Regions from separate parts of the Homo sapiens genome. Here regions 2, 3, 4 and 5 are each linked to region 1. The links are contacts of gene promoters, found by promoter capture Hi-C in human tissues and cell types (Jung and others, 2019). All regions are on one chromosome and are shown on one strand. Each heading gives the region's core, a stretch centred on a gene start or on the middle of the fragment in contact. The rest is flanking DNA. Distances are from core to core; before and after follow the strand shown. Region 1 holds the start of RAB1B (RAB1B, member RAS oncogene family). Region 2 overlaps LTBP3 (latent transforming growth factor beta binding protein 3). Region 3 holds the start of PC (pyruvate carboxylase). Region 4 holds the start of MAP3K11 (mitogen-activated protein kinase kinase kinase 11). Region 5 overlaps PCNX3 (pecanex 3).

Region 1 (4,398 bases), core at 1,043-3,542:
TTCCCTCCCCAGCCCCACCCTTCTCCCTGCCCCCATCTCCCGTGAGTTCCTCCTTGGGCAAATCCCAGGCTGTCCTTTTCCCTCAGGATGAAGCGGGCCAGTTCCCTCAACTTCCTCAACAAGAGCGTGGAAGAGCCGACCCAGGTAGGGGCAGGCGGGTGTCTGGGCACTGGGCAGCTGCGGCCGGGGCTGCATGCGTGCTGCCAAGCTTCCCTCCAGCATGCCTCTTCATCCAGCAACAGTTCCTGGCTCTGTCTCAGGCCTACTTTGGGCTGGACAACGGGGAGACACGAGGGGAACCCAGCCTCTCCTGGGGGTGGACGTGTAAACGGCCAGTGCTAACACCGTCACTGTGGAGATGGACGGGAGTGTCAGGGCACCAGGGTGTGGCCTTGGGTCAGAACTGCCATTGCCTCTGCCCAGCTCAGGGATTCCGGCTGCCTCTGCCAGGTCAGACCCCTTCAGGCCAGGGAGGCACAGACTGGCAGCAGCACAGGGCTGAGCCACCTGCCCCCTCTGCCCACAGCCTGGAGGCACAGGTCTCTCTGACAGCCGCACTCTCAGCTCCAGCTCCATGGACCTCTCCCGACGAAGCTCCCTGGTGGGCTAATGCTGAAGGGGCAGCCAGTCACCAGAGCGCCCACCTGGCACACCCCCCTCACCCCAGCCCTGCGCATGGGCCTGCTGCTTGTCCCGCCTGTCTCTCCCACAGCCCCTGTCTTTTCTGTTCAATCTCAGGGTAACCTTCTCCCTTGTCATCTCAGCCTGAGCCCTGGAGGCTGGGCCTGCCCACTCCAGCTCCATCCCTTATTTATTCCTTCCAGCAGGGCCCTCTTCCCTAGGTTCGGGCCAGCAGGAGGTGCCGGCTGGAGTCTCCACCATAGACTCAGTGGCCTGGCCTCCCCAGACCCCAGAGCCAAGAACACTAAGCACTCGCCGGCCCTTCGGCACCCTCGCCCTCCCTCCCGACTCAACCCGGCCGTTGCTTCTGTATATAGAGAAATAAGTTATTGGCCGCGCGCCTCCCTTCAGTCCACGGTACTACCCGGGCCTCCCCTCGTCCCTCTTCTAGTGGTACCGCCCAGGCCTTAATCACCCCCATTCCGTGCGGTGGTATCTCCCAGGCTCTACATTCTCGGGAGCGGCGCCTCCCAAGGGGGTCCTGGGACCTTCTCGCGCTCCTCCTGGCCTCTGAGGGATGCGTCCTACCCGCGCCATCGCCCCGTGGCCCAGGACGGGGACCTCCCCTTAGTCCGTCCTCCCACCGCCGGGCCCTGCCCCGCATCCCGGCCTTATGCACTGCCCCTCCCACCCGGCCCCGCCCAGGCACGGCCGACCCCGCCCCGGGCACCGCCCACCGAGCCATCCTGCCTCGCCTCCCCCCACGCCTGCAGCTTCTCGCGAGGGGCGGCGACGGTCCCCTGGTGGCAGGAGGGGCTCCCCCTGTTGCGGGTGAGGCGGCTGCTCTCATATTTTCAGATGTTGCTGTAGAAATAAAGACGGTTTAAATCTGAGCTGGGCTTGTTTTGAGACGGAGGTCGGGGGCCCCCAGCGTCTCTAGACTGGGGTGGAGCCGGGAAGGGTCGTGCGTGAGTGGGGGACAGTGTGTCTCGCTCAACCGCTGTCCGCGCAGCTGGGCCCAGATATTGTGCCCCACCCCGGAATTGCGTGAGGGGCCCACAAGTCAGGCTTTCCCTAAAACACTCACTTGTGGGGTTCTGGAGACCGCGGGCTCTTATGAGCTCTGCTCCTCACAAAGTTTTTGACCTTGAGTGAGTTTCCCGAGACTCAGTTTTTTCATCTATGAAATGCGGGTGATGACGCGCGGCTGCGAGTTAGGACTGCCCAGTACACGAAGAACCCTGGACAAATGTACTTTTATTAGTCTTACTAGAACCCACATTCTCATTTAATGTTCACAACGTGGGTATTGGGAGGGCAAGGATGACTACCTCCGTCAGACAGATGTGAAACGTGCCAAGCCCAGCCCTAAATTGAGCTTTCTAAACACCGAGTCGCGGTCAGGCTTTCCAGCACTGTCCTCAAGCCTGAGTGCGTCCGGAGTGCAAACTACAAGCCCCAGAAGGCAATGCGCCAGCAGTGATGGGAGTGGGCGCGGAGGCGCGGGCTCCCCGACTACGCCTGCGCAGCGGGGCTGAGTTGGAGAACGTCTTAGACTACAAGTTCCGGGAATCAGCGCGGCGAGGCCTGAGAAGAAGACGTTTGCGCCTGCGCGTCGCGGGCGGGGCCTCTGGGGCGGAGCGGCCACCATCTTGGAACGGGAGGCGGAGCAGAGTCGACTGGGAGCGACCGAGCGGGCCGCCGCCGCCGCCATGAACCCCGAATAGTGAGTGAGCCCCGCCCGCGCCGTCCAGCGCAGCCTCGATCCCGAATACAGGGCTGTACGCTTACCGGGGTTGTCTGGCCCGGGTCAGGACTGTGCGGCGCCCCCACATCCGGGTCCCTCTTCCGCTGACCCCCCCCCACATCCGGGTTCTGCCCCTCCCCCCAGGGGCCCCAGGACCCCGGCTCAAAACCCCGAGCCCTCGCACCCGGGGCCCAGACGTGGCGACCCCCAGGGGCAGCTCTTGGAGCTCGAGACATCGGTCCTACCAGGCCTTATCGGTCAGATGACCCCGCAGTCCCGGTCACTTCAGGCCTCAGTTTCCCCACCTGCTGCTTGACAACTGTCCCGGAGTTTTGGAGCCCGTCTTGATAGTTTCTGGTCTCGGGTTCAGGCTTGGGCCCTTTAGGTCGGGCAGTGAATCCCTCTACCCTTCTCTTTCTCCTGAAGCCCGGCTCCTGGGGCCGGCCCAGAAGCTAGCCAACTACGCGGGAGGCCCCGAAGCGCCGCTTGGGTCGCGTCTCCCGCAGGTCCTCTCTTCCGGGGCTGCCTCCTACCCTTTGCCTGGGTCGCGCTGTCCTGTCGCTCCCGCCGGTCCGTCCTTTCCCGCCCTCTCCTCGCTTTTGCTCAGGCCCCCAACGCCACCGTCACACCCCTTCCCTTGGCTGTCACACTGCCTGTGAAGTTTAGATGAATATGGAATTTGCTCTCCCCCTTCCTGTGGGATTCTCTGGTCCTCAAACTCTCCTCACTCTTGGTCACTCCCCCTGCGGGTAGGTGGCCCACATCTCATGCCCAGGACTAATAGTTTTCCCCAAGTATCAGTTATCTTCTTCCTTTTCTGCCACTTCCTTTTTCTACTCCACATCCAGGTCTCAGATTTCCTTGGGGAAGGGTGAAGCTCTGAGCTGGATTGGGAGGGGAACAGAGAAGGGAACCAGCAGGCTCTCGAAGGGACTTTGGAGTCTGAGAAACCTGGTTTGAGTCTTAAAGCGATAAACTGTGTAAGTTAGGGCAAGTCACTTCCCTTCTCTGGCCTCTGGTTTCCTCATTAGTTGACAATGACAAAACTGACTTCATTGAACTGTTGTGAAGATTAAATGAGATGATGCATTTAAAGTACTTCACACAGGGTCCGTCCACAGGTTGGAACTCAAGTATATTAAATGTGATTACCTTTTGCCTTTTTTTTTTTTTATTTTGAGACAGGGTCTCTCTCTGTCACCCAGGCTGGAGTGCAGTGGCGTGACGATGGCTCACTGCAGTCTCCAACTCTTGGGCTGAAGCAGTCCTCCTGCCTTGTCCTCCTGAGTAGCTGGGAATACAGAGGCACACCACCACACCTGGCACATTTTTTAATTTTTTGTAAAGACAGGGTCTCGATATGTTTCCCAGCCTGATCTCAAACTCCTGGGCTTAAATGATTCTCGTGCCTCGGGCTTCCAAAGTGTTGGGATTACAGGTGTCAGTCACTGCACCCAGCCTTAAGTGCAATTTTCACTGCAACTTGACCACCTCTTCCTGGTGACTTCATAACAGGTTTTTGTTGTTGTTGTTGTTGTTGTTGTTGTTGTTGTTGTTGTTGTTGTCTCCAAAGAGATGGGGTTAGCCGGGTGCGGTGGCTCAGGCCTGTAATCCCAGGACTTTGGGAGGCCGAGGTGGGTGGATCACGAGGTCAGGAGATCGAGACCATCCTGGCCAACATGGTGAAATCCCGTCTCTACTAAAAATACAAAAATTAGCTAGTCATGGTGGCGCATGCCTGTAATCCCAGCCACTCTGGAGGGTGAGACAGGAGAATCACTTGAACCAGGGAGTCGGACGTTGCAGTGAGCCGAGATCGTGCCACTGCACTCCAGCCTGGTGAGAGAGCGAGACTCTGTCTCGAAAAAACAAAAGAAAAGAGAGACGGGGTTGTGCTGCATCACCCAGGCTGGTCATACACTCCTAGGCTCCAAGGATCCTCCTCCTGTTTCAGCCTCCCCAGTAGCTGGAACCACAGGCACACGCCACAGCACCCAGCCATCAGTCTCTCTACGTGGGTTTTCAACTTA
Region 2 (4,398 bases), core at 1,063-3,562, 720 kb before region 1:
CCCCAGCTTCCCAGATGGTGCCCCTCAGGCGCCCCTGCCATCCCTCCCCCACCATCTCCTCCAACGCCTTCCGCAGCCTGCCCCTGAACTGTCAGTGTCCACAAGGCTCTGCTAGATGCTCTGCTTACCCAACCCACCTTGGGTTGGCTAAGCAGGCCCACCCAAGACTCCATAGCTCCCCCGGTCCATGGTCCATCATTCCAGGTGGGTATGCTGGCATCTCCTGCTGAGAGGCTCACAGGCACAATCCATTCAATTTGTCCAATGTGGAGCTCAGCATTTTCCCTCCCAAACATGCCCACGCATGAGGACCCATTCCCAGTGAGCAGCACTACCCCCTCACTCACCCAAACTGGAAACGGGGAGGGGTCGTTATCACCCTCGCTTTCACTTGACATCCAGTTAAAAAACCCAGGAGGTCTAATATTTCTCCAATATCATCGTCTCATGGCCATCCTGAGCCCACCACTCATCCTGTCCACCACTGTCTCCGCCCTAAGTCTCTGCAACAGACCTCCCTCCACAATCAGCAGCAGGGAACGTTCTAAAACAAATGGCAAATCTTGTCACTCTTACACTTAAAATGCTGCAGGTGCCCTCTAACACCTTCTGGGTGAAGCACAACCTCCCAGGCAGGACTTAGGGGGCCCTCCAAGGGATGGGGACCTGTCCCTCCCCGGCCAGCCTCAGCCCCCATAGCCTGATCATTCCTTACAGTTCCCCAACACCCCACCCTCTGTCTCACCTCTGATCTGCCAGTGCCAACCCCTGTGCCTGCCATGCTGTTCCTCTCCTCCTTTCTTGCCCAATTCCTAGTGATTCTTTAAGATGACCCAGGCCTCCTTCCTCCCATCCCGCTGTGTCTCCAGGAAGCAGCCCAGCTCCATCCAGGCCCAGCACTGCATGCTACAGTCTGTCTTTCCTTCTCCAGTTTTCAATGAGTCCCAGCCCCCAGCCCCGCCTCTTGGCGTATAATAAACAGGAGTGCAGGGGGGAGTACTATCGTCTGCCCTCATTCTTTGATATCTTTTTTCCTTCAAATTTAAGTAACATGCTTTGCAAACGCAGCTTCGAGCTCTACCCCGAGACCCTTCCTACGTGGAAATTCTAGTGGTGCCTTCCTTGGCAAAGTTCGTTGAGAAAATGAGTGAGCAGAGTCACCTGGGGATGAATGAGCCACCTTCCACCCACTGTTTACAGACAGCGTGACCCGCTCCCCGGCTTCAGCGCGTAGGGGGCGGCGGAGGCCCGGGGCGGGGGTGCTGGCGCTCACCCAAGCAACTGCGGCCGTCGGGCGCGGGCGCGTAGCCCTGGGCACAGGTGCAGCGGAAGGAGCCCGGGAGGTTCTCGCACCAGCCAGGCGAGCAGGGGCTGCCCTCGGCGCACTCGTTCACGTCTGCGGCGGAAAGACCTAGCCTCGGACTCTGCCCCACCGGAAGGCGGACCGCGCACCTCGCGGGGGTGTGGGTCTCTTCCCTGGAACGCGGGGTTGAGAGGGCAGCCTCTACTCCCGGAAGGCCCCGCCCCCAGACGCCAATCACCACCGCTACCCCGCCCCGCCCCCAGCGGAGCCAGACTGGGGGAGGCACCTGACGGCCCCACCCACTCGGCTCCGGGCCCCGCCCTCACCGCGACAGGCCCCGCCCCCCTGGCTGCGGTAGCCAGGCTGACAGGCGATGCACTTGAAGCTCCCGGGCTTGTTCTCGCATTTGCCATCCGGGCAAGAGCTTGGGTCCCGGCACTCGTCGATGTCTGCACGGGAGGGAGAAGGAAGAGGACCCATCTGGGGACAACGCGGGTGGCCCGGCTCCCAGCGTCCACAGCAGGGACTTCCTCCCACACAGATCAACGAGGCTCCCGGACCCCAACCTCTGAGAGGCCCAGAGCCGAGCATACAGGCCGGGTGCGGTGGCACACGGCTGTAATCCCAGCACTTTGGGAGGCCGAGGCGGGTGGATCACCTGAGGTCAGGAGTTCGAGACCAGCCTGGCCAACATGGCGAAACCCCGTCTCTACTAAAAATACAAAAATTAGGCGTGGTGGCAGGCGCCCGTAATCCCAGCTACTCGGGAGGCTGAGGCAGGAGAATCGCTTGAACCCGGGAGGCGGAGGTTGCAGTGAGCCAAGATCTCACCACCGCACTCCAGCCTGGGCGACAGAGTGAGACTCCGTCTCGGGGGAAAAAAAAAAAAATGCAGGCACCCCAGCCCCACCCCAGGTGGAGAGACAGCTAAGGAGCTCCTTCTTTGGTCTGAATGGGGTCCCCTCACCTTCGCACACAGGAGGCCGGGAGGCTTTGAGCCGGTAGCCGGGGTAGCAGTTGCACTTGTAGTGACCGGGAAAGTTGATGCAGAAGCCGCCGTCGCCGCACAGGTGGGGCTTGGCGCATTCGTTCAGGTCTGTGCGGGAGGAAGGGGCCACGAAGGGGGTGTAGGAGGCGGCGGGCAAGGGGAGGGATTACACGGCGGTCTGGAGGAGAGCCCGTCCCACCCAGGGCCGCCTCCGCCCTGGCGGCGCTCACCCACGCACGAGCGCCCCCCGGCGCCCACGTGCAGGCGGTAGCCGCGGTTGCAGTGGCAATTGTAGGAGCCGCCGGTGTTCATGCAGATGCCCCTCCCCGGGCCACAGGGCTCTGCCTCGCACTCGTTCACATCTGAGAAGAACGGGTAGGCCAAGAAAAGTCAAAGGAAGCGTCGTTATCTGGGGTCCCCCCCCACCCACCTGCATGCCCGCCGCCTGCCCTGCGCTCACCCACGCAGTAGCGGTGCTGGGGATGTGACCGGTAGCCGGGGTTGCAGTGGCAGGAGTAGTCAGGGGGGCCCGGCACGCACTCTCCGTGGCCACAGATGTTCTGGTTCAGTCGGCACTCATCAGTCTCTGCGGGCATGGCCAGGTCAAGCGGCAGAGCAGGGAGCGCTCACCTTCTGCCATATCCCCAGGGCAGACCTCAACACCCCAGTCACACCATGACCTCAGGTTCCTGTACGCCCATACTCCAACTCCAGGATGTCCTATTTCTCTCTTTTAGATAACCCCAATATCAAGACCCCAGAAAGCTCCAAACTAGGACTCCAGGCCCCTGACAGCCGTATCACCCCACACCCAGGCCCGGATACTTCCATTCCCGGTTCACTCCAAGACCCTGACCCCACTCACCTCAAACCAAACCACATCCCCTCAGGGCCCCTCAGTCGTCCCAGTACTCCCACCCAAGGGACTAAAACTCCTTTCTCCCCAGTCGCCTCAATACCTTAAACTCTATAGCCTCGGTCACACCAGTGTCCTCTAGCCCAGTGACTCCATAAGCCCTTGCCCCAGGGACCCGACCCCCTATTCCAGAAGGGTTGATTACCCCCTCCCAAGACTAGCAGGAGCTGGTTTCCTGGGAATCCTAACTAGTGCCAAAGCTGTGCACAGGCAGTCAGATCCAGGAACCACCCCCCTCACTCTCTTTGTCACCAAGCCCAGGACTCCCTGCCTCCAGCCTCTCCCCTCCTTTGGATCCTCACTGCTCACCAGTTTCATTTCCCACACCCCTTCCCCCTCACTCCTGCCATGCAGCCTGGGCCATAACAGTGAACTCTGCTCTGCCCCAAACTCACCTGGCCAGTGGGCTTTGCAGGCTGTTCTCTTTGCCTGGAGTACCTCTCCTTAGGCTTCCTTAACAGCCCCTCCTTTGAGGGGCCTTGTCCACATTCCCAAAGCCCCCAAGAACAGCCATCTCCCACCTGAGCCCTAACCCTAGGAGCTCATGGAGGATCAGGGTTTCAGCTGGGTTGGCAGTTCCCTTGTGCTTTTGAAGCCCACACAGGCATGGGCTTGAACACGGCTCAGCTGTGTGACCTGGGGCAGGTTACTGAACCTCTTTGAGGCTCAGCTTTCTCATCTGGAAAACGAGGCTAACAACGCTCACTTTGCAGAGTATGAGAAGGTTAAATGGTATTTAGAACGTAAAACTCTTCAGACAGTACCTGGCACAGAGGGACTGCTCAGTCTGAGCTAGCAATTATGATGCTCAAAATCCTGCAGACACTGCCCATAGCCTCTGGCATTAAACTCAAGCCTCCTTGACAAGGCTCAGTGCACTGGACTTCCCCTGGTTCAGAGACACTGGCCTGTGTGTGGGTTCTCCCTCCTCCACCAGTGTTTCATGCTTCCATGCCTTTGCCCAACTTAACTTCCCTTGTGATATCCTTTTCCCAACCTGAATGCCCCTCCCTTCCTCATGTCTCTGGCATTTCTAACCATCTTTCTTTTTTTTTGAGATGGAGTCTCACTCTGTCCCCAGGCCGGAGTGCAGTGGCACGATCTTGGCTCACTGCAACCTCTATCTCCCAGGTTCAAGTGATTCTCCTGAGTAGCTGGGACTACAGGCATGCACCACCACGCCCAGCTAAT
Region 3 (4,398 bases), core at 911-3,410, 690 kb after region 1:
GAAGCTGTTTCCCCCACATTCTCCTTCCACCTTCCTCAGCCTTCCTCTTCCAGTTCTAATTGCTTGAAACCTCTGTAACTGGCCAGGCATGATGGCTCATGCCTATAATCCCAGCACTTTGGGAGGTCGAGGTGGGCGGATCACCTGAGGTCAGGAGTTCAAGACCAGCCTGGCCAACATGGTGAAACCCCATCTCTACTAAAAATACAAAAAATAGCCAGGTGTGGTGGCATGCGCCTGTAATCCCAGCTACTCAGGATGCTGAGGCAGGAGAATCGCTTGAACTCGGGAGGCGGAGGTTGTGGTGAGCTGAGATCACACCGCTGCACTCCAGCCTGGGCGACAAGAGCGAAACTCCATCTCAAAAAACAAAAACAAAAAAACCTCTTTAACAAAACCTCTCCAGAATAAAACTTTCTAGCTGCTGAAATCCAATCACTGTTTCTCCACTGCAGCGGCATCAAAAAGAGGTCCACAACTCACCTCCTCCACGAAGCCTTCCCAAGCCCATCCCCTTCCAGGCCATTTCTCCTCTCTCTCGCTTTAGTGTGTGGTTTGCTGTGATTTACTGGCCTCTACTGAACTTCCTCTTCCATGTCCTCCTAGGGCCAATACCTCACCCACTAGGCTCTCTACAAACATCTGCAGCAGGCTGCCTTGCTGCTTAGGTTTTGTTTATTTTCTCTCTCCCCCAATGGGTTTGTCAGCAGTTGCAGGACAAGGATTGACCTCATCGCCCACGCTGTCTCTCGGCCCAGTGTAGGGATAGGAACACTGTAGGTGTGCAAAAGAATGTGATTAAGAGTTCAACAGTTAAGGAGAGCCTGCAGGCAGGAAGCTGTAGCTGCAAGTGAGAGAAATGCTGAGCACATCCACCCCCAGCACAAGTGTTTGCATCACATACAGGGAAAGGGTGCCTTGGGGGAGGCCAGCCAGGGCTGATGGTGGCAGTGGGTACGGGAGCAATAGGGAGGCAGATGGCAGGCACTCTGGAGGTTCTGGTTGTCATCAGCAAGTGTTGGTACTTCTCTGAGCCTGTTTTCTCAGCTGGAGAACGGGTAAGGAGCCCAGGCCTACCTCTTCTCACAAAATAAAGACACAATCTGATTTTTTAGAATTTCAGACGAGGCACGCCTGTAATCTCAGCACTTTGGGAAGCCAGGGCAGGCCGCTCGCTTGAGCGTAGGAGTTCGAGACCAGCCTGGGCAACATGACGGAACCTCGTCTCTACCAAAAAATACAAAAATTAGCTAGGCGTGGTGGCGCCCGCCTGTAGTCCCAGCACTGGGGGACTGTGGCAGGAGGGTCGCTTGAGCCCGGGAGGTCGAGACTGCAGTGAGCCGAGATCGCGCCACTGCACTCCAGCCTGGGTGGGTGACAGCAAGACCCTGTCTAAAAAAGAAAAGAAAACAAAAGAATCTCAAAGTTGCCAGGGACCTAGGGACTTGGCTTCCGACTCTGATGCGCTTTGTAAACTACTAAAAGCTGGAGAAATAAGGGGCTGAGCCCAGCCCCACCTCCTGAATGAGCGGCCTTGGGCGAATCACTGCGTCTGGGCGCCTGGAGCTTCCCCGTCTGAAACAAAGTAGAGGATCCTACGGGAGGCGGAGTGCGAGAGCAAGGAACAAGGAAAGCCCTCGCCTTACACGCCGCGGCTTCCTGCAGAGCTGAGCCACATCCAGTACGATGGGGACAACTTGGGCTCCCGATCCTGACAGACTTGGGTTCGAACCCTCAGGGACCTCGCGCGAGGCGCTTTAGTCAGTTTCTCCATCTGCAAAATGGGCCCGAGAGCAAGAATGAGGCAGCCCGCAGGCGGACGCTGCGGAGGGGCGCTCGGGGGCTGCAGCCGGGGGCGGGTCCGGGGGCGGGTCCAGCCGGCCGAGCCCCCGCGCGAGGGGGAGGGGCGCCGTCCGCTGCGTCGCGTCGCGCACCGCGCACAGCCCGTCGCTGTCTCCTCCAGCCGTCACTCGCGGAGCCCGCGCCGCCTTTGCGCGCGCGACCCTTACATAAGCGTCCCTCGCAGCGGTGCCGGCGCACGTCCACCCGCTCCGACCCGCCGCGGGAAGAGGACCGTGCGGAGCGCGGCGGACACTCACCTCCTCGCCGTCGCCAGTCCTCGCCGCCGCCTCTACCGCTGCTGCCTCCACTGACAGAGAACAGCTGCGGTCTCCGTGCAACCGAACTTGCTGCAGTCCCGGCCCCGCCTTACGGACTTCCTATTGGCCCAGACAGCCCAACCCCTCCCGTTATTGGGCAGTGTTCTCCGTCACTCCTCGCCCCTAGGCTCTGGACTCCTCCCTGTGCCCGCCTGTCCGTCACGTTTAAGCCTTGGCGCCCCACGTCAGCCCCGCCCCTCCCGTCCCCGGCGAGCGCCTGGATAAGTGGCGAGGCTGGGAGAGCCCGCCCCTGGCGCACCACCGCCTACTCCCTTGTCTCCGGAGCCTCACGTGGGCCGCCGGACCCTAGCCGACGCCCGCAATAGGCGGAAGTGGCCGGGCTGTGGCTCGCAGTTATTGGCTGTCGGCGGGGGTGGGGACGTTCGATTCATTCACCCGAGTAGCACGTGTCTCCCGAAGCTGCAAGCACAACAGTTCGCACTGGGGCTCAGGCATCCCGGCTAGACGCAGATACGCGCTGGCTAGCGGAGAAGAGGTCGCAGGAAAAGCTAACGTTAGCGAAGGGCAGGAGGAAGGAGAAGGCGCTTGTGCCACACGGGTTACATGACTATGTCCTTTAACAGCTGCGTAGATGATGATGGGGGTCTACAGTACGTCTGTGTGACCTTGGGCAAGCAACTTAACCTCTGAGTCTCGGTTTTGTCATCTGCAGAGCGAAGCTACTCAGGACCTAGGGGGTTTGGAAGCCTTGTTTGAGACACAAGACACTTGACAAGACCCAAGACACTTGTCAAAGAGGAAAGCTTTGACAAGTGGAACAAGTGACTGAGGCATAAGTCTCTGTCATCGAGGCTTATTAATCCAGTTTGAGGGCGTGCTCGGGAAAAACACGAACCACAGACACATCCGTGGTTGTTTTTCCGAAGAGGTTTTCGGGAGGTTTAGTATTTATGCATTTCCTTAAAGGGGGAATGAGGGGAAGGCATGTAGGAAGAAGGGCAAGTAGGCGATTAGGACAATAGTTACATTCCTATGGGACTTTAGCTAATGCCCGGTAAATCTACGTAAGATGAGATGAATGTCTGAAGAGAAAAAGAGAGTAAAGGAAGAGTCAGTTATGCAGATGTCTCTGAGTAGGTAGTTTTGACTTTGTTCTGCACCTGGGAAAATAAGCTTGTAATGACATTCTTATTGTGGAATTTTTAGGAGCTAGACTTAGATTGTAGACCTGAAGCTACAATTGACCTGTCCTTGTTTATGGGAGGCCAGCAAGAATTTACTTGTGAATGATCTGTGGGGGCAGCCCTTCCCAAATGCCTGAGGTTTTTACCTTTCCGTGTGGATATGGCTGATGCCTAATGCTAGTAACAGCTATTCTTTTGGAAGAGGGTGTTGCAGTGACTCAGCTTCAAGGCTTAATCTTCACTTTCGCATGAATTGGGGCGCTGGGGGGGGGTCCCGAGATTTTTACTTTCATTCACCGCTGCGTAAACTGGGGTCTGTGCCAACCAGGGGATAAGGGAGTGACCAAACAAACCAAAATCCTGCCTTCAAAGGAGAGCAGACAGATTAATATATATATATATATATATATTTTTTTTTTTTTTTTTTTGAGACGGAGTCTCGCTCTGTCGCCCAGGCCGGACTGCGGACTGCAGTGGCGCAATCTCGGCTCACTGCAAGCTCCGCTTCCCGGGTTCACGCCATTCTCCTGCCTCAGCCTCCTGAGTAGCTGGGACTACAGGCGCCCGCCACCGCGCCCGGCTAATTTTTTGTATTTTTAGTAGAGACGGGGTTTCACCTTGTTAGCCAGGATGGTCTCGATCTCCTGACCTCATGATCCACCCGCCTCGGCCTCCCAAAGTGCTGGGATTATAGGCGTGAGCCACCGCGCCCGGCCCAGATTAATACATAGTACATCAGATGGTGATAAGGGCAAAGAGAAAAAATAACCTGCTTCCAAAAAGGAGAATCAAAGACTATGAGAACATCTTGCTAACTAGAAATTGTTTATTGAGCCTGGAGAGATCTGACTCTTCTCTCAGACTTCTTGTATAAGTAGTTTCTCACTCCAACTTCCCTGTCATTCCTTCTACCCGTCCTGAAGAACTCCAACCTTGGGTTGGATCCGACACAGCTATTTTAGTAACAGAACAAGGATTAAGATCCCAGTTCACCTTTGGGAGGCTGAGTAGGGAGGAATACTTGAGCCCAGGAATTTGAGACCAGCATTGGCAACACACTAAGACCTCATCTCTGTCTTTTAAAAATTAAAAAA
Region 4 (4,398 bases), core at 962-3,461, 650 kb before region 1:
CAGCCCAGGCCAGGAGGCTCAAAATATCCACGTTGACCCCCCTCTAAGAATGTCTCATGCTTTTCCAGTGACCACACTGAGCCTGGCCCCTCCTGCATTTCCTACTGCTGCTCTCCAGCCTGCACTCTGGGCTCTAGGAGGCCCCTGCTCCTGGTCCCTGCTGTGTGCTGGGTCCTGCTTCCATGCCTTCTCTCTCTAAATGCTGCGTGCACCAGGAAACCCTCTGAAGCTGTCACTCACTTCTCTTGGGCCATGATGGGCAGCGTGTCGGGGGCTTGAAATGATGGGAGATGGAGTCTCCCTTAGCCCAGCACTCCCATCCCAAGCACTGATTTCAGGCTAGGCCCTCTTGGCGATCCAGCCCTCAAATGTCCATCTCCATGGCTGAGGACCCGCTGTGGGTTGGGGATCGCAGGTCGGGCTTGCCCAAGCTGTTGAGCTGTTTCACTCTCCCTTTTTACAGATTCTGAAATTGAGGCTCCGAGTTGGAGTAACCAGCTAGAGGTCATGAAGCCAGGGAGGGCTAGGCCAGAATTCCAGCCCTGGCCTTAGCCTTGACTGCCAAGGAGGGCTTCCCTCTCTGAGATATCTGTTCTGGAGGAGCTGCCCATGACGACGGGAGGGGAGGACAGAGCACCAACTCCACGAACATGAATTTAGGGGAGGAGAAGATGAGGAGCACGAGCTTCCAGAGGACTTCCTTGAGGTGGGAGCCATGGCTGGGCAGGATGCTTATGGCCCACCTGAGAGATACCAATTTCTTAACTTGTCCAAACCGCAGCTGCAGGCTGGGGTCAAGGACTTCTGAAGCTGGCGCAGGAAGACTCTGCTGGGTGCCTGGGGCTCTGTTTGGGGGCTAGCTTGAGCCCATGGGCACCCCTGGTCAGCTGGGACCCCCTAGGGTGGGAGCTCCTACCTGCAGTAGACCCTAAGCTAGGCTCAGTGGAAGGTTGGGAGCAGGTGTGTACCAGAGCCATGCCACCCCCAACCATGCCCCCAGAAACTCACTGTTGTTGGACTTGAGATCACGGTGGATGACGGGCACCAGGGCCTCGCAGTGCAGGTAGTGCATCCCACGGGCAATCTGCACAGCCCAGTTGACCAGCACATGGGGAGGCACGCGCCGCCCGGCCAGAGCTCGGCTGAGGGGCCCACCGGCTGCATACTCCATCACCAGGCACAGGTTGGGCTCCTCCAGGCACACAGCCTTGAGGGCAATGATGTTGGGGTGTGCCAGCATGGCGAAGAGCCGGGCCTCCTGGCGAACGCTCTCGGCTGTCACACTGATGTCCTCATCGGGGTCCTGGCGAGCTGCCTTCACAGCCACCAGCTCACCTCGCCAGCTGCCCCTGTACACCTTGCCAAAGCCTCCAATGCCGATCACCTCCTCCAGCCGCAGCTCCTGGAAGCTGGCCACCTCGCAGGGGGGCGGGCCGCCACCCCGAGACACATAGTTGGACGGGAAGATGCCCACCTGGCCACCCACCTGGCCCGCCCACCAGCCCTCGTCTCCTGAGATGGCTGCGTCCCGGGACAGCACCTCCACACGGTCACCCTTCCTCAGGGCCAGCTCATCCTGCCCACTGGGCTCGTAGTCGAACAGGGCTGTCCACACCGGGTTGGCATAACCCGCTGCCTTTGGAGACCCCTCAGGCCGGCCTCCTCCACCGCCCCCACCACCCCCGCTGCCACTGCCATTCCATGACCCTAGAGGGCTCTTGAGGAAGAGGCTCTTCAAGGGCTCCATGGCCGGGAGCCGGCGCTGGGATGTGTGGAGGACCTTCTCTGGGTGCCCGTGGTCCCCACCCCCGCTGGCTGCCAAGGCCCTAGTCCCGGAACCTGGGCATCCGGGCCCTGGCCCTCAGCCCCAGACCCACGCCTCTCTGGGGAGCCAGGAGTGTTGTCTCCCGGCCCCCCGCATCTCGGGCTTCTGGAGGAGGGCACCCAGGGCAGTGTGGTCAGGCCGGGGGGGTGGGGCCCCGGGGCCTCCGGCGCCTCACCATGGCTAGCTTGGAGGGACCCGAGCTTCCCTCGGTTCTGGAGCAGTCCTGGGAGCCTGGCTCCGGCCCCCGCCAAGTGTAAGGTGGGGCCTTCAGGGGCAGCGCCTCAACTCCGGTTGGGTCTTTTTGCGCAGGGGGTGGAGGGAGCGTCCGCAGTTGGGCCGAGACTGCCTGTTCCTGGCCCCGTCTCCTTTGGCCCCGACGGCTCCGACCCCGCTCCCTTCTTCCTCCTCCCTTTGTACTTTGGCCCCGGGGGCGGGAGGCAGAGGTGGAGGGTGGAGTTTCACTTTTTTCCGCTCTTCTCCCTCCTGCAGGAAACAGCATCAGATGACGCGGGCGGCCTGCACCGCTCCCCTCCCAGAGGCTCCAGGCGGGGAGTTCCCGGGTAGGCGGGCCAGGAGAGGCAGAGAGGGAAAGGGCAGAACCAGATCCCCCATCACAGCAGGCTTTTGAGATCTAGAAAGAAAAGCCCCCAGCTGCGTGCTCTGCTGCCTAGGGTGGAGGTTGGTCTCTGCTAAGGATGGGCCATCTCTGCCCTCTGCATCCGCATCGGCGGCAGCAAAACGGGGTTACAGAACCACACTTGGGAAGGGGGTGAACCCGAGTCTGGTCTTGGCTGCGAAGTTGTGGGACTGTGCGATCCATCGATTCTGAGCCTCATTATTTTCTTTCTTTTTTCTTCTTTTGAGACGGAGTCTTGCTCTGTCGCCCAGGCTGGTATGCAATGGCGCAGTCTAAGCTCACTGCAACCTCCGCCTCCCGGGTTCAAGAGATTCTCCTGCCTCAGCCTCCCGAGTAGCTGGGACTACCGGCGCGTGGCACCACGGCCGGCTAATTTTTGTATTTTTAGTGGAGACGGGTTTCACCATGTTGGCCATGCTGGTCTCAAACCCCTGACCTCGTGATCCTCCCGCCTCGGCCTCCCAAAGTGTTGGGATTACAGGCGTGAGCCACCGCGCCCGGCCATTCTTTTCATATATGATATGAGGACGAGAAAGCTCTGCCTCGTAGAGCTAGTTGGATGGGGTGGGGAAGACTGGAGGACAGACGGAACTGGCTGCACCTCAAGCTCTTGGAGTGGATTGCCTAAGGCTCTCTTCTTCTCCTCACCTGGGAAACAATCCGCTTCTTCATATCCCTTCCCCATTGGCAGAAACCTGAGACTTGTCCAGAACTTTGCCCAGGATTGGATTCAGAATAGCTGAGTCGCCCTCACAACTTCTGGATAGGGCTGCCCCAATTGCTTTGAGCCTGTCACTTTAAGAAAGACGACGCTATCCTATTTCGACTATTCCTGCCTGTTACGGAAGGTTGTTCTCTACACCCTAGGTCTGAGCTCTGACCCGGAAGTAGACGCCGCTGGGAGCGAAATCGGTCGTGACGTACGAGGTCCAGCATTAAAGGGGGCGGGCCGAGAGGGGCGTGCTTCGGTAGTGCAGAACTCTCGCTGCTACTAGGGGAGTCCACGCCTCCACCTTTTCCCCGCCTCCTGTAACTCATTGGAAGAGCTGTGCGCCAATTACTTTGCCGTTACCCAATGGCTACTCAACTGTCTCTTTGGTTCCGCCCAGTCGTCTACCCTGGGTTGGCAACGCCTGGGTCTACGCATGCGCCCAAACGCTTTTACGCTCGAACTTGCTTTAGTCCTGGAGTCTGCGCACGCCCAAAGGGCACCCCTCGCGTCCTACCGCGCCATCACCTTTCTGCGCTTGCGCATTCATGCCGTCAAGTTTTCCTTTTCCGGGTCCCAATTGGAATCGTTGGGCGCATGCGCCACTGCAGGCTGGCGGTTCGCGGCTCCTTCTTCCGGCCTCCTCCTTAGGCCGGCACCAGCAGAAGCCGGGCGAGCGCGGAGCCCCAAGCAAGTGACCTGCGACCCCGAAAGTGGACCCCAGATCCTGGGGTTCTCCCTGGTCCGGAGACTAGGGAGCTGTCGCCTGCACCCCGGGAGCACCCACCCCACGACCACCTCTGGATGCCGCCGACGGGTACCCGGCCCGTGCCCCGCGCCTGCCTGCCGGCTCGGCCCCTCGGAGCAATTCTGGGCCAGGAGTGGGGACCCGGACCCCGCCCCTGATGCAGCCCCACCCCCGCGTCCGGGCCTTGCACCACTGACTGTCCCGGCCGGCCCCGCCCCCTGCTCGCACCCTCGCGCGGCCGAGCCCCCCTCCCCCGCTGGGGGAGGCCATGGCGTGAGCGTGAGGCCGGGCCCCGGGGCCCTCAGGCGCCAGACGGGGCATGGGCCGGGGGCCGCCCCCATGAGGGTCCCGGGAGGGGGGGCGCGGGCAGCAGCGGCGGGGCCATGGGGTCGCAGGTGTTGCAGATCCTGCGCCAGGGGGTGTGGGCCTCGCTCACCGGCGGTTGGTTCTTCGACCCGCACCAGAGCACCTTCTCCAAC
Region 5 (4,398 bases), core at 1,328-3,827, 640 kb before region 1:
AGCTGAGGCCTCAGAGAGTTTAAGTGTCCCCTGAGGTGCCACTGCCAGACCTCAGGTTGCAGGGGCCTCTGTGCCCATATGGCTCTGATAGGTGCCCAGGCAAGGAAGGCTTGCTTTGGGCAGTGAGTATGGGGCAGGTGGGCAGTTGCAGAGGCCAGCCTTTGAAACCACCAGCCCCTGCCCCCAGCTCACCCAGCACAGAGCAGTGGTAGAGCTAACAGTTGTCACGTTAACGATCATCATGGGAGCAGCTGCTTGAGCAGTAACATTTACCACGGGTGGGCGCTATGCTGGGCATCTCTCCTGAGCTGGGTGGAGTCCCCCACCCTTTGAGAGGGGCCCTGCTATCTCACAGATGTGGAAGTTGGCTTGCAGAGGTTCCAGAATCTGAAGAAAATGGCCAAGCCAGGCCTTGAACCCAGGCTGGCCCTGAGCCACAGAGCTTTCCTGCCTTAGCCTGGGGGCTCTGAGCCAGGCCTGAGGATCTTGAGACCTCTTGGGGGTGGGAGGGGGTTGGTGAGGCAATGTGGGGTACATAAGGAGCCCTGGAATGGGGGTTCTGATCAGCCTGGAATGTTTCTTCCCTGTGTCCCTCAGCTTACCCCTTGAGAAGTGGGGGTTATTGCAGTTCTCTGAGATGGCAGAAATGTTGAGGCTTGGCCAAGCGTGGTGGCTCATGCCTGTAATCCCAGCACTTTGGGAGGCCAAGGCAGGTGGATCACTTGAGGTCAAGAGTTTGAGACTAGCCTGGCCAATGTGGCGAAACCCCATCTCTACTAAAAATACAAAATAATTAGCCGGGTGTGATGGCGGGCACCTGTAGTCCCAGCTACTTGGGACGCTGAGACAGGAGAATCACTTGAACCTGGGAGGCAGAGGTTGCAGCCAGCCGAGATCGTGCTACTGCACTCCAGCCTGGGCAACAGAGCAAGACTGTCTCAAAAAAAAAAAAGGAATTTTGAGGCTTGTGGTGCTCAGAATAAGCGTACTGGGAGTGGGGTGGCCTGCTGATCACAGTGCAGGCTCCCACGTGCCTTCTTAGGATCTACCCTGGTGCTCCCTATGTTGGGCTCGGTGGGTGGCCTACTGGGGCCCAGGTGAGCCTGCCACCTAGGTTCTCTCTGGAGTAGTTTCACGAGGCCCTGGCTGTCCTTCTCCAAAGGAAATCCTGTCCACACCACATATCAGAGGAGCTGTCATTTGTCATTCCTTCTGCCCTCCCAGCCACTCCTAGGCAAGGATTTGTGAGACCACCCCCCTTTCATCAAGAAGGAGGCTGTGTCTAGAGAGGGACATTCCCAGTCCCAGGTCACCGAGAGGTCATGGCCTGGTCCACCTTCCGGTCCCATCTTGAGAGAGGTGCCCTTGCCCAGGTTGCCCTGCTGTGCCTGCTAGGCTAGGGCCAGCAGGTTGAGATGCACCTGGCCAGGTCTCTTGTCCCATGGGGAAGCTGACTGGCCACATCTAAGGCTGCCTCAAAGGCTGGGCAGAATTTGAGTCTGGAGGAAGTGCTTGGAGGACCTGGGGTGGCTCCGCTGAGGATGTGGACTGAGGGTGAAGCTTGGAAGGACAAGTCAGGGCTGCCAGGGGTGGGGCGGGGGGAGGCGGGTGTGCTGGGGAGCCTGGTGCATCTGGGGAAGTGTCCCAGCTGCAGGGATAGGTCCTTTCCAGCCTTCGAGGTTGGCCAGTCGAGGCGGAGCCCCTCCCGTTAGCTTTGCCCTTCCCGTGGGAGTTACTGGGCTCTCAGACCTGCTTCTGCAGCTGGGAAGGGCTACAAGAGCAGGAAAAGGCACCGTGGCTTGAGGCTGCACGGAGTCTGGGCAGTGCTTCCCGGGAAGTACCTTGGGCAGAGCCCAGCTCGCAGTGAGCGCTCACAGGCGGAGCGGCTGCTGGTATTGCCCCCCGTCTTCATTTTCTTCCTAAGATGACCGTGAGTGTTGTGTCAGAGAAAAGGATGGCACTGGTGAAGGTTAACCAAGCACCTGATATGTGCCAGGCCAGCTCCTCTCCCGGTCCCTGAAGCTTTTCTTTTTTTTATTTTTTTTTGAAACAAGGTCTCATTCTGTCACCCAGGCTGGAGTGCAGTGGTGCCATCTGGGTTCACTGCAGTGTCCACCTCCCAGGTTCAAGTAATCCTCCTACCTCAGCCTCCCAGGTAGCTGGGACTACAGGCATGCACCACCATGCCTGGCTAATTTTTGTATTTTTTGTAGAGATGGGGTTTCGCCATGTTGTCCAGGCTGGTCTTGAACTCCTGGGTTCAAGCGATCCTCCCACCTCCACCTCCCGAAGTTCTGGGATTACAGGTGTGAGCCACCCTGTCTGGCTGAAGCTTTTCTTTTCTGGGTCTTTTTAGCAGCTCTGGTGGTGCCTGGATTGTAGAGGCGAGCTATGGGCAAGAAAGTCAGTCTGGAGCGGGTCTGCCCTGGCAAAGGGCCTGCCCCATTAGCTCCATCTTAGGGTGGCACATGGAATCCCCATCACCTCACTGGCTGCCCTGCCGGCCTTAACCCGCCCGTGCATCCTGGCCATGCCAGCTACCTGTCTTCCAAAGCTCCTGTACTTTTGCCCAACAGGGCCTTTTAACAAGAGGTCCAGGAGCCCCCAGCTTTGGGTACCACATGTGCCCGTGGCTTTTTTCTGAGGCGAGGCCTGATGGCTGTCATGCTTCAGCTGCCTAAAGGGACCTGTGACCCAGGCACTCTGAGGCAGGCCCACTACTTCAGCCTGCCCTTCCGGCCCCGAGATCTGGATCCCACAATGTCATGATGGGGAAGGTCCGGGGTTCAGGCGGCAGTTCAGTCTGTTCTGCCCCACTCGCTCCCCGCCCCCTGCCCATGTGACATCTGGATGCTCCCGCGCTCGGGGTTATGTTTGTGCAGGAACACCAGCTCCTGCTGCTACCTGGCCCACGTGCTGCACAGGCACTGAAGGTTCACCTGAGGGCCACACCATAGTGTCGGGGCCAGCCAGAGGCGGGTGGGGGACAGGGTTCAGGGCAGGTGGGGCCAGCTCCACCTTGATGACTTGGAAGCTGAGGTGGTAAATGTTGAGTGTGATGATCTTGTTCTCGTTGGGGGCTGCCATTTGTTTGAGCCTCAATTTCTCATACAAACGGGGCATATTCTAGGGCAGAGGCAGGCAGATGCTGCTTGTGAGTGCTAGCCCCAGCACAGGACTTCCTGCTCTGTAAGTGGGTGCTTCCTGGCGGCTTTGTCACTCCTCCCTGGTCTAGGGGAAGGAGCCAACTTGCTTGGTTGCTCTTGAGAGCTGAGATGGCTCTAGGAGCGGGGCATCCCAGAAAGCGGACTTCAGCTCAGTCTTGGGGAGGAGCCTCTGAACCTCCATGCTTTCTCCTCCAGTGGCCAGGGCCGGGACCCCGGCCTGACGCCTGCCCCTCCTCTCCCAGAGCATCATCTACTACGTGAGCCGCTCACCAAAGCTGGAGGTGTGGCTCAGCCATGAGGGCATCACGGCAGCCCTGAGGCCTGTGCGGGTGCCCGGCTATGCCGACTCGGATCCCACCTTCTCGCTGAGTGTGGATGAGGACTATGACCTCCGCCTGTCTGGCCTCTCGCTGCCCTCCTTTTGTGCTGTGCACCTCGAGTGGATCCAGTACTGCGCCTCCCGGCGCAGCCAGGTCAGGCTCCACTACCTGAGGCTGCCACCTGGGGCTGTGGGACCTGGGCTTCCCTGCTCCCCTTCTCCCCATTTGGTTTCCTCTCACTCTGAGCCTCCCTTAGCCTGAGCCCCAGCCCCCACTCCAAGGTCCCTGTCCCAGGTCTGAGCTGGGCTCTGGGATGGGGGTCCTTATGCCACAGCCCGTGGACCAGGATTGGAACTCCCCGCTGGTCACGCTGTGTTTTGGCCTGTGTGTGCTGGGCCGCCGGGCCCTGGGGACAGCCTCTCACAGCATGTCTGCAAGGTGAGTGCTCGGGTGTCCCGCGGGGCCTACTGCCGTCCCCACCCCACCTCTTCCACGAAGAGCACTGTGGTCTCTGGCCACAGTGGCCACAGAAACTGCAGTGGCCCTTCCTGTTGGGGTACCTCTTCTCCCACGGGCAGGGCACTTCCTGGTCATGACCTTGCCTGCTCCTCAGTGCTCTGTGAGAGACATGGGCAGAGATTGGCCTCTTTGTCAAGATGGGGAAACTGAGGCTCAGCGTGAGGAAAGGCCTCTGCTTGGATCACTCTGAAGCCTTACCCCTGGGTCCTCGACACCCCTCTCTCCCCTCCCTGTTTTTCCTCCCACTTAGCCTGGAGCCCTTCCTCTACGGCCTGCACGCCCTGTTCAAGGGGGATTTTCGCATCACCTCCCCACGTGACGAGTGGGTCTTTGCCGACATGGACCTGCTTCACCGCGTTGTGGCGCCTGGGGTTCGCATGGCCCTCAAGCTT

Evidence for each region. The method cuts DNA at HindIII sites, captures the fragments that hold promoters and counts their contacts. A contact is called where the count stands out against the background at its distance.
Region 2: a contact is called between a fragment that was not itself captured here and the fragment with the promoter of RAB1B in region 1, in 1 of the 25 tissues and cell types used here (mesenchymal stem cells).
Region 3: a contact is called between the fragment with the promoter of PC here and the fragment with the promoter of RAB1B in region 1, in 1 of the 25 tissues and cell types used here (dorsolateral prefrontal cortex).
Region 4: the fragment with the promoter of MAP3K11 here is called in contact with the fragment with the promoter of RAB1B in region 1 in 1 of the 25 tissues and cell types used here (dorsolateral prefrontal cortex).
Region 5: a contact is called between a fragment that was not itself captured here and the fragment with the promoter of RAB1B in region 1, in 1 of the 25 tissues and cell types used here (dorsolateral prefrontal cortex).

Annotation. Positions count from the first base shown.
Region 1 is chr11:66,266,347-66,270,744 of GRCh38, forward strand. It overlaps RAB1B (RAB1B, member RAS oncogene family), which reads left to right and starts at 2,293. Exons shown (of 6, transcript NM_030981.3): 1 at 2,293-2,347. The coding sequence starts at 2,334. KLC2 (kinesin light chain 2) reads left to right here. Exons shown (of 16, transcript NM_001318734.2): 15 at 87-144; 16 at 527-1,514. The coding sequence ends at 610. KLC2-AS2 (KLC2 antisense RNA 2) reads right to left here and starts at 2,065. Exons shown (of 3, transcript NR_186342.1): 1 at 1,953-2,065; 2 at 1,709-1,862; 3 at 1,203-1,485. RefSeq lists enhancers at 1-745, 1,502-1,551, 1,852-1,901, 2,022-2,351, 2,512-3,393 and silencers at 1,002-1,051, 1,072-1,391. The HindIII fragment of the contact is 7,867 bases long and covers 1-4,398 here.
Region 2 is chr11:65,545,169-65,549,566 of GRCh38, forward strand. LTBP3 (latent transforming growth factor beta binding protein 3) reads right to left here. Exons shown (of 28, transcript NM_001130144.3): 12 at 2,752-2,877; 13 at 2,522-2,653; 14 at 2,271-2,399; 15 at 1,630-1,752; 16 at 1,274-1,396. Among named protein-coding and RNA genes, the nearest start is that of LTBP3, 11 kb to the right of the region's middle. RefSeq lists silencers at 1,143-1,412, 1,423-1,722, 1,853-1,922, 2,423-2,602. The HindIII fragment of the contact is 7,062 bases long and covers 1-4,398 here.
Region 3 is chr11:66,956,223-66,960,620 of GRCh38, forward strand. It overlaps PC (pyruvate carboxylase), which reads right to left and starts at 2,161. Exons shown (of 23, transcript NM_001040716.2): 1 at 2,100-2,161. RefSeq lists enhancers at 576-955, 2,119-2,168 and silencers at 1,819-1,918, 2,239-2,598. The HindIII fragment of the contact is 6,851 bases long and covers 1-3,108 here.
Region 4 is chr11:65,612,010-65,616,407 of GRCh38, forward strand. It overlaps MAP3K11 (mitogen-activated protein kinase kinase kinase 11), which reads right to left and starts at 2,212. Exons shown (of 10, transcript NM_002419.4): 1 at 1,009-2,212. The coding sequence starts at 1,747. It overlaps PCNX3 (pecanex 3), which reads left to right and starts at 3,767. Exons shown (of 35, transcript NM_032223.4): 1 at 3,767-4,398. The coding sequence starts at 4,303. RefSeq lists enhancers at 647-1,534, 2,252-2,681, 2,423-3,309, 3,192-3,241, 3,302-3,391 and 2 more and silencers at 1,822-2,001, 4,012-4,261. The HindIII fragment of the contact is 27,885 bases long and covers 1-4,398 here.
Region 5 is chr11:65,630,717-65,635,114 of GRCh38, forward strand. It overlaps PCNX3 (pecanex 3), which reads left to right. Exons shown (of 35, transcript NM_032223.4): 28 at 3,410-3,640; 29 at 3,822-3,925; 30 at 4,257-4,398. Among named protein-coding and RNA genes, the nearest start is that of MIR4690, 3.4 kb to the right of the region's middle. The HindIII fragment of the contact is 1,572 bases long and covers 1,792-3,363 here.